Linked DNA regions of Homo sapiens: regions 1 and 3 are each linked to region 2. The links are contacts of gene promoters, found by promoter capture Hi-C in blood cells and fetal thymus (Javierre and others, 2016). All regions are on one chromosome and are shown on one strand. Each heading gives the region's core, a stretch centred on a gene start or on the middle of the fragment in contact. The rest is flanking DNA. Distances are from core to core; before and after follow the strand shown. Region 1 overlaps SEC24B-AS1 (SEC24B antisense RNA 1). Region 2 holds the start of FAM241A (family with sequence similarity 241 member A). Region 3 has its middle 9.2 kb from the start of MCUB.

Region 1 (2,700 bases), core at 1-2,500, 2.7 Mb after region 2:
TCCGTGGCCCCAGTGCCGGCCCCGCGGCTGCTGCTCCGGCCCGGCCAGGTGCCTTCGTGTTGAGGCGAAAGGACTGGGCCTCAGTGGGTGAAGGGACCGGGTGGCCCGCTTCCACCTAGGGCAGAGGCTGGATCGGCCGCGGCGAGGCTGGGCCCAGCATTACTGGGAGGGGAACTTGAGAGCCGCGGGTTGATGTTCGGAGCTCAGGCGACGACTGACCACCCACCCTTCCTCGAAGAGGAACAATGGCTTGGGTTTGGTTTTTAATTTTTGATTCCCCCACCTCCCCTTTCTTGATTCCAAAGGAAATATAGCATTCAAGCGCCATGTCTGTTGGGAATATATAATTCCTTGGCAAAGAAAGAGGAAACATTTCTCTGATAAACACAAGAATCTCAGTAAGAATTGCATTATTGAGAACTTTTCCCACTGATAAAGTAGGGAAGAGGAAGGGGAAAATAGGGTAAGGGAATGCTGGAAGACAAACTTTAAACTTTATCTCCTTTTTTTTTTTTTTTTTTGTCGATTGTTGGTGCATCCTGTTGGTGTTCCGAGAAGTTGTGGCTCAGCTTGCTTTGTCTACATTAGTGGAATCTTTAAGTCTTTCTGGTCTGTCTCAGCATACTCACTGGCAGGCCCTAGACTACATTACCCAAGTCATTTTGCCGTCTTGGAATCCTGAGTATGTCATCACTCTGTATTGGAGATGAGATTGCTCAGAAACACTGAATTCAGAATGGGATCTAGCAAGATGGTATTTCTGGAGCAATAAGTCATTTACTGAATGATTATGCAAAGCATAAATTGCATTGTAGTCCTAGAATAATACAAAGCTTCCCTTTAGTTGTTGCCGTAAATTAATAACTGGCATTTTAATGCACTAAATGAATTTTAGTAGTTAGATTTATATCTTTGACTTCTAGGAATTTCAACTACATTAGAGTTCATATACACAAAAGGGGCAAGCCCTTTTCCACAGCATTTCCAGCTTCTCCACAGAAACCTAGCCCCACATGAGCAAAAGATCACACTCTGTGCTTCATCAAAGAGATTACACAATTACAGATTCCAGCATCTCCCAGGAGTCCTTTGAATTTGGATTAAGGTCTATAATTACGTGGGTAAGGGAATAACTAGGTAATTGGCTTTCTGCACCTGGAATGTATTCTCCTGGGTATAAGAGGCTCCTTTTAATCAGAAGTATATGGGATGAAAGTGAACCCTGTCTCTTAAGGGGAGACTCCTTAAGAGGAGGATTGGGGCCCTGTGTTTTAATAGATCTTCTCCACAATCTTTAATACCTAAGCTCCTTCCCCTTGTCCACTAATTTGCTGTAGAATTTTTCTAGCATGTTTATGATGGTGTTCAGGGCACACTACCCCAAAATATAACACCTTGGCATATTGAATGTTTTAAGCTGATGGAATTTGAGAAATGGCAGGTGTGAGGACTCTGACCTTCCCATGAAGCAGGTCATAAGACCCTCATGTGAGAGATGCCCTCTCTATACCTGGAGAAAAGAAGCAGTCTTATTTGTGAAGACAGAGAGACGCCAAGAGGAATCTAAATGAATAGGCCTTGGTAGGTTTCCCCCAGTTTACTGCCCTTAGCCCATCTTTTTGTCTTATCACAGTTTTCCATAACAGTCTACTCTTCATCAAGCTTGGTATAAAACGCTCAGGTTTCTTCAGGTCTTCGTTTCCTTATGAAGGCTCTGGTGCCATGTAAAACTTACATTAAATATCATACATTCATATGCCTTTCTTTTGTTACAGGAACCCCAGACGCACGGGCCTTGTGCTGTCGCTGCCGTGGCACCCCTTCTAGAAGGTAGATATTTTTCCTCCTGACAAACACTACAACCTTTATGAAAATATTTCACTCTTTTGCTTTAATTTCCATTACTACTATAAGTGAAAAAAGGATGAAGAATTGAATGAATAGGATTGAACCATCTACTAGGCACTGTGCTTGTAAATCTAGATATGTATTTTTTTCTATTTAATCCTAACAATAACTCCATGGGATATTTTTCTTATCCCTATTTTATCTGTGAAGAAACTAATGTTTATAGAGCTGAAGTAATCTTAGTAAAAATCATGAACCTGGAATTAGCAGAACCAGCGGTCAAACCAAGGATTATTTAGCTCCAGACCATTGCTTTACTATAAACTATACTGGGTTAATTTACATTTTTCTTCATAAAGCTATGCTAGTTATGATTTACTGTCTTGCTGTCAAAAGATTTTCAGTTTTTCATATTTAGAATTTGTTCCAGTGTACTCTACAATGGTAGATCTCAGAGTTTTTGAAATGCAGATTTGTGGGCCCAAACCCTGGACCGTATACTGATTCAGAAGTGGTGGAGATAGGGCCCTACAGCAAGCTCTCCAGGCAATTCTGATGCATGGGGAAGTTTGAGGACCACTGCTTTTGAATAGCAGAGTTAAGCTGAATTGGTTCATTCTCTTACTTTGGAAGATGATGGTCCTTTCTTTCAGGACATCTCTTCAATCTTTTACAGACCAATAAAAGTGATATTTTGTAGATTTGTGATTACAGTGTCACAAATGCCAATTATGATGTTTCCTATGTCAACTCAGATTCTCTGAGGTATAGTGTTGATGCAGATGCTGAGGCCAAGTCTGTTCAGTGAGAAAGAGTGGGTAATTGAATTAATCTCTGCTGCATATATGGAAG
Region 2 (2,700 bases), core at 49-2,548:
ATGTAAGGTATACATCTATTAATGCATTTAGTGATGATACTGGAATTTGTGAAACGTGACAGAAAGGACAGATGAAGAAAGATGAGGAGAGACAGGTATTAATTGTCCTAACAGTACAGGCTGTAATAAAGGCCAATAATCATTTGAATTCCTGCTCCTTAATGTGAGTCTAAAGAGCGGCTTACCTCAGGTATTTGGAAAGTCTAAATACTGTATTTGCTGTAGAAAATTCATCCAACATACAATTCAATTTTTAAAATTAAACCTTTTGCCTAATCTTTAAGATATTTGATGTTATAATGCCCATTATCACACTTTATTTAAATGAGATAAACTCAGAGAGTTTAAAAAATTACGCAACTTCTCTTTTCCCTTACTATGGCTGGCCTCTTATAACCGAAAGCAATATTCTTGCCTCTCCACTTTTTAACTGAAGCTTTGATCTCATCTGTATTTATGAAGAACGTGCTCTGGGAGAGTCCCTGTCAAGACATTCATTGTAACACCCGCTCCTACTCATGCTTTCAGCGCTGCCCGTGGACGGAATCCACCCACACCTTCCAGACACGCTAGGTGTGGGCTCGGAAACGCAAGATGGAGGGCGGGAGGGGAGCCGGCGTCTCCTAAACCTGGCGCAGGGCACGGACTCGAAGTTGAAAAAGAAGTGTTTACAAGTGAGGCTTTTAAATAAATCACCGCTATGGAGGGCATTTCCTCCGAGCCCTGGGCGCCAGCCTGAGAATCCTCTGCCGGACGCCAGGGGACGAACCACGCTGACCCCGCCAGACACGCGACCCCGGGGCCGGCGCTGGCGTCTGCACTCGCGCGACCCCGCCGCTCCTCCTGGGAGCGCCGTCTAACCGCTCCCGGCGACGACTTCCCAGAGCGCCGGGGAGCCAGTGCCCACGCGGGGCAGAGCTGCGGCGCGGCCCGCGGGCCGGGCCCCTTCCCTCCAACGCCGGGCGGGGCTCGCGGCCCCCGACCCGGCCGCTTCGCCGCCGCCCCTCCCCGCGCTCACCTGCTCGCTCTCCTTCGGCCGCTGTCCGCGCCGCCGCGGGCTCGCCCCGGGATCCCACCCGGTCCCTGCCGCCTCCCGCTCCGCCAGCGCGTCCCCGTCCTCGTCGCGTTCCCCGCCGTCGCCGCCCCGCAGCAGCTCCCCGGCTGAGCACATCCCGCAGCCAACTCCTACCGCCCCGGACAGCCGCCGGAGGACCACGCCGCGACGCACCAGGCAGCGCCGCCGCCCGAAGGCTGCCCTGGGATCCGCCGCACCCGCCGCTGACAGGAGCCGCCGGAGCGCGCCCCGCCGGCCTGGGCGCCTGAAGTACCAGCCCGGCCCCTCCTGTCACTGGCTCGCCCAACCCCCGGCCGTCGGGGCGGAGCCGTACAGGGGAGGGGCCAAGACAGGGGGCGGGGCCAACGGTGTGTTGGGGGGCGGGGGTGTGTGTGTGAGATTGAGAGAGAGGCCGACAGACTGAGAGAAGAAGGGTGTTGTGTGAAAAACTATGGACATACACTGCATGAGGGAGATTGTACATGAGAGAGGCTGTGTGTATGTATGAGGGATATTGTGTGTGCGTAAGAGACCGTTAGAGAGTGTGAGAGAGACGCTGAGCGTGATTTGTGTGTGTGTGTGAGAGAGATTCTATATAAAAGAAACTGCGTATAAGAGATTGTATGCACTTTGGGAGGCCGAGGCGGGCAGATAGCTTGAGCCCAGGAGTTGGAGACCAGCCTGGGCAACCCCATCTCTACTAAAAATAGAATTAGGCGGGCGTGGTGGCGGCAGTGTGGTCCCAGCTACTCAGGAGGCTGAGGTGGGAGGATCGTCTCAGCGCGGGAAGTCGAGGCTGCAGTGAGCAGAGATCACACCACTGCACTCCAGCGTGGGCGACAGAACCAGACCCCGTTTCAGAGAGAGAGAGAGAGAGAGAGAGGAGGGGGGGGGGAAAGAGAGAGAGAGAGAGAGAGAGAGAGAGATTGAGATTGTATGTGTATGCAAGAGACTGTGAGAGAGAGATTGTATGAGGGAACAACAGAAACTGAGAGAGATCAAGTGTGAAAGAGAAATTACTTGTGTGAGAGAGCCAGTGCATATATTTAAGAGAGAGCGCATTTGTATAAGAGATTAGTGTGTGTGGGTTTGTATGTGAGAGAGAAACACACACATGCACCCAGTTACACTCTCCAGCAGAGTACCCCTGTTCTTGCCTGAGTATCTGCCCGTCCTTTTCAAGGAAGACACATTTCACTGTCCCTCTTGTTCCTTTAGCCTCCTTTCCTAGTGTCTCACTGAAGGTCTGTGTATTTGTCCCTTTCTGTTGAGTGCTTCCTAGTGTGTGTTGTTTGTTGGAGCCTTGGGTCGTTTGATGGTGTATCAAATGATGTATCTTTCTGTAACTGGGTAAGAATATGTCTTTCTCAGTGGGTGGTGAGGGGAATATATCCAATTGATAATTATTTTTTGTACTACTCCATCCATTTTATTCAAGGAAAATGGAAGGGTGTTTAAATAAAATATCACTTTTTTTTCTGTGTATGCCTTATCTGTACATTGGGAAAACGATGGGTTATTGTACAGGTAAAATACAGAAAAGTAAATATGGAAAGTAAACATGTGTACACATGGAGAAGAGTAAGAGTTATTTGGGATCTTCTATTAAAATGTTTTCAGGCCCAGAGAAGGAATTAAAATAGGCA
Region 3 (2,700 bases), core at 83-2,582, 2.6 Mb after region 2:
CCAACTGGAATGTAAGCTCCATGACAGAAGGGACCTTGTCTGTTTTGTTCACTGCTCTATCACCAGCACCTAAGTAGTAGGTTCTCAAATATCTGCTGAATAAATTTAATAGATCAATAATAAAACAGGACTTTAAAACTACAACCGCCCTTAGGCTGGGCACAGTGGCTCACGCCTATAATCCTAGCACTTTGGGAGACCGAGGTGGGTGGATTGCCTGAGCTCAGGAGTTTGAGACCAGCCTGGGCAACATGGTGAAACCCCATCTATACTAAAATACAAAAAATTAGCCAGGCATGGTGGTGTGCACCTGTAATCCCAGCTACTCGGGAGGCTGAGACAGGAGAATCTCTTGAACCTGGGAGGCAGAGGTTGCAGTGAGCCGAGATCACTCCATTGCACTCCAGCCTGGGTGACAGAGCAAGAATCTGTCTCAAAAAAAACAAACAAACAAAAAAACAAACCCCAAAAAACTACAGCCACTTTTAAAAATAATAGAAACACACAAACTTGTGGTTAGTAGTACATGAGGATTTGCCAGACACTGTTCTAGGCTGATGGTAGAGTGATGAATAAAAACGATGAGTTTCTATATTCACAAACTATGTATTTGTCAAAGGACTAATATCCAGAATCTACAAAGAACTCAAACAAATCAGCAAGAAAAACACAAATAATCCCATCAAAAAGTGGGCAAAGGATGTGAATAGACAATTCTCAAAAGCTTATACAAACAGCCCACAAACATATCAAAAAATGCTCAACATCACTAATTATCAGGGAAATGCAAATTAAAACCACAATGAGATACCAACTTACTCCTGCAAGAATAGCCATAATTAAGAAGTGAAAAAACAATAGATGTTGGTGTAGATGTGGTGAAAAGAAAACACTTTTATACTGCTGGTGCTAATGTAAACTAGTCCAACCACTATGGAAAACAATATGAAGATTCCTTAAAGAATTAAAAGTAGATCTACCATTCAATCCAGCAATCCCAATCCCACTACTGTGTATCTACTCGAAGGAAAAGAATTCATTATATGAAAAAGACACGTGCACACACGTTTACAGAAGCACAATTTGCAACTGCAAAAATATGGAACAAACCTGAATGCCCATCACCCAAGTAAATAAAGAAAATGTGGTGTGTATATATATATACACACACCATGAAATACTACTCAGCCATAAAAAACAAAATAATGTCCTTTGTAGCAACTTAGATGGAGCTGGGGGCCATTATTCTAAGTGAAATAACTCCAGAATGGAAAACCAAATATAGTATGTTCTCGCTTATAAGCAGGGGCTAAGCTATGAGGATGCAAAGATGTAAGAATGATATAATGTACTTTGGGGATTCAGGTGTGGGGAAGGTTGGGTGGGGGTGAGGGATAAAAGACTACATAGTGGGGTCAGGCACGGTGGCTCATGCCTGTAGTCCCAGCACTTTGGGAGGCCGGGGCGGATGGATCGCTTGAGGCCAGGAGTTCAAGACTAGCCTGGCCAAAATGGCAAAACTCCATCTCTACTAAAAATACAAAAATTAGCCGGGCATGGTCGTGTGTGCCTGTAGTCGCAGTTACTCGGGTGGCTGAGGCATGAGAATCGCTTGAATCTGGGAGGCAGAGGTTGCAGTGAGCCAAGATTGGCCACTGCACTCCAGCCTGGGTGACAGAGCAAGACTCCAACTCAAAAAAAAAAAAAAAAAGAAAGAAAGACTACATATTAGGTACAGTGTATACTGCTTGGGTAATGGTGATGGGTGCATCAAAATCACAGAAATCACCACTGAAGGACTTATCCATGTAACCAAAACCACCTGTACCCCACAAAACTATTGAAATAAAAAAAAATTTAAAAAATTGACACTTAAGAACTTTTTTTTTTAAAGATGAGTTCTGTGTTCTTCCTTACACAGAACCTAGTGGGGAAGCTTGTTCACCTAGTGAACAAGTAATTAAGTAGAGTGACATAAAGGTTATAAGAGTAAAACTACAAGGGCTATGTGAACATACAGCAGGGAGACCCCACCTAAGCTAGTGGTAAGGGACAGGCTGGCATCAGTACACACTAATAACTGAAGGAGGAAGAGCAGCTAACCAGATAAAAAAGTAAAGATGAGTTCTTAGCAGGAGGAACAGCATGTTTACAGGCTCAGAGGCTTAAGAGGTCATAACCACTATTGTAATAAAGAGATAGGTCAAAAGCCTGAGAAAGTCTTTTTGGAATAAACCTGATAGCAAAAACAAACAAACAAAAAAAAACCCACAATTGTGACTTACTGGTGAGCATCGAGTTTTGAAGTCTGATGTTATGTACATGTAATGAACTAAGACTACTTGCTTCTTTCTGTATACCCATCTGTACTGGATGGTCTGAAGCAAAAAAGTGTAGTTAATACATCGATCACAGTAAAAGTGGAGGTAGCAGCAGCCCACATGATAATATTTTGGTTTTCCATGTCCAGTGTGGAATAATTGCAGTGAAGGTGGAAAGTGATAGGAGGGCAAAGGGCAGGCTCAATGTGGGAGTATTATTACTATTATTACTGTTGTGCTGTTATTTTGTTAAGACATTGACTGCCATTTATCAAGTATTTACTACAAGTAAGGTGCTGCACAAGAAACTTTACATACTCGTTCCATATAATTCTCACAAAACTCTTACCAAGGAACCATTATTCTCTAGTAGGGATAT

Evidence for each region. The method cuts DNA at HindIII sites, captures the fragments that hold promoters and counts their contacts. A CHiCAGO score of 5 or more calls a contact.
Region 1: a fragment that was not itself captured here is called in contact with the fragment with the promoter of FAM241A in region 2 in 3 of 17 cell types (naive CD8 T cells, naive B cells and total B cells); the score reaches 8.4 in naive CD8 T cells.
Region 3: a contact is called between a fragment that was not itself captured here and the fragment with the promoter of FAM241A in region 2, in 1 of 17 cell types (M0 macrophages). The highest score is 5.3, in M0 macrophages.

What each region holds. Positions count from the first base shown.
Region 1 is chr4:109,430,822-109,433,521 of GRCh38, reverse strand. SEC24B-AS1 (SEC24B antisense RNA 1) reads left to right here. Exons shown (of 3, transcript NR_039978.1): 2 at 1,776-1,830. Among named protein-coding and RNA genes, the nearest start is that of SEC24B, 1.6 kb to the left of the region's middle. RefSeq lists a silencer at 1-77. The HindIII fragment of the contact is 829 bases long and covers 836-1,664 here.
Region 2 is chr4:112,144,052-112,146,751 of GRCh38, reverse strand. FAM241A (family with sequence similarity 241 member A) reads right to left here and starts at 1,298. Exons shown (of 2, transcript NM_152400.3): 1 at 1,019-1,298. The coding sequence starts at 1,171. RefSeq lists an enhancer at 388-527 and a silencer at 868-1,517. The HindIII fragment of the contact is 3,530 bases long and covers 439-2,700 here.
Region 3 is chr4:109,549,698-109,552,397 of GRCh38, reverse strand. No RefSeq gene overlaps it. Among named protein-coding and RNA genes, the nearest start is that of MCUB, 9.2 kb to the left of the region's middle. The HindIII fragment of the contact is 1,212 bases long and covers 727-1,938 here.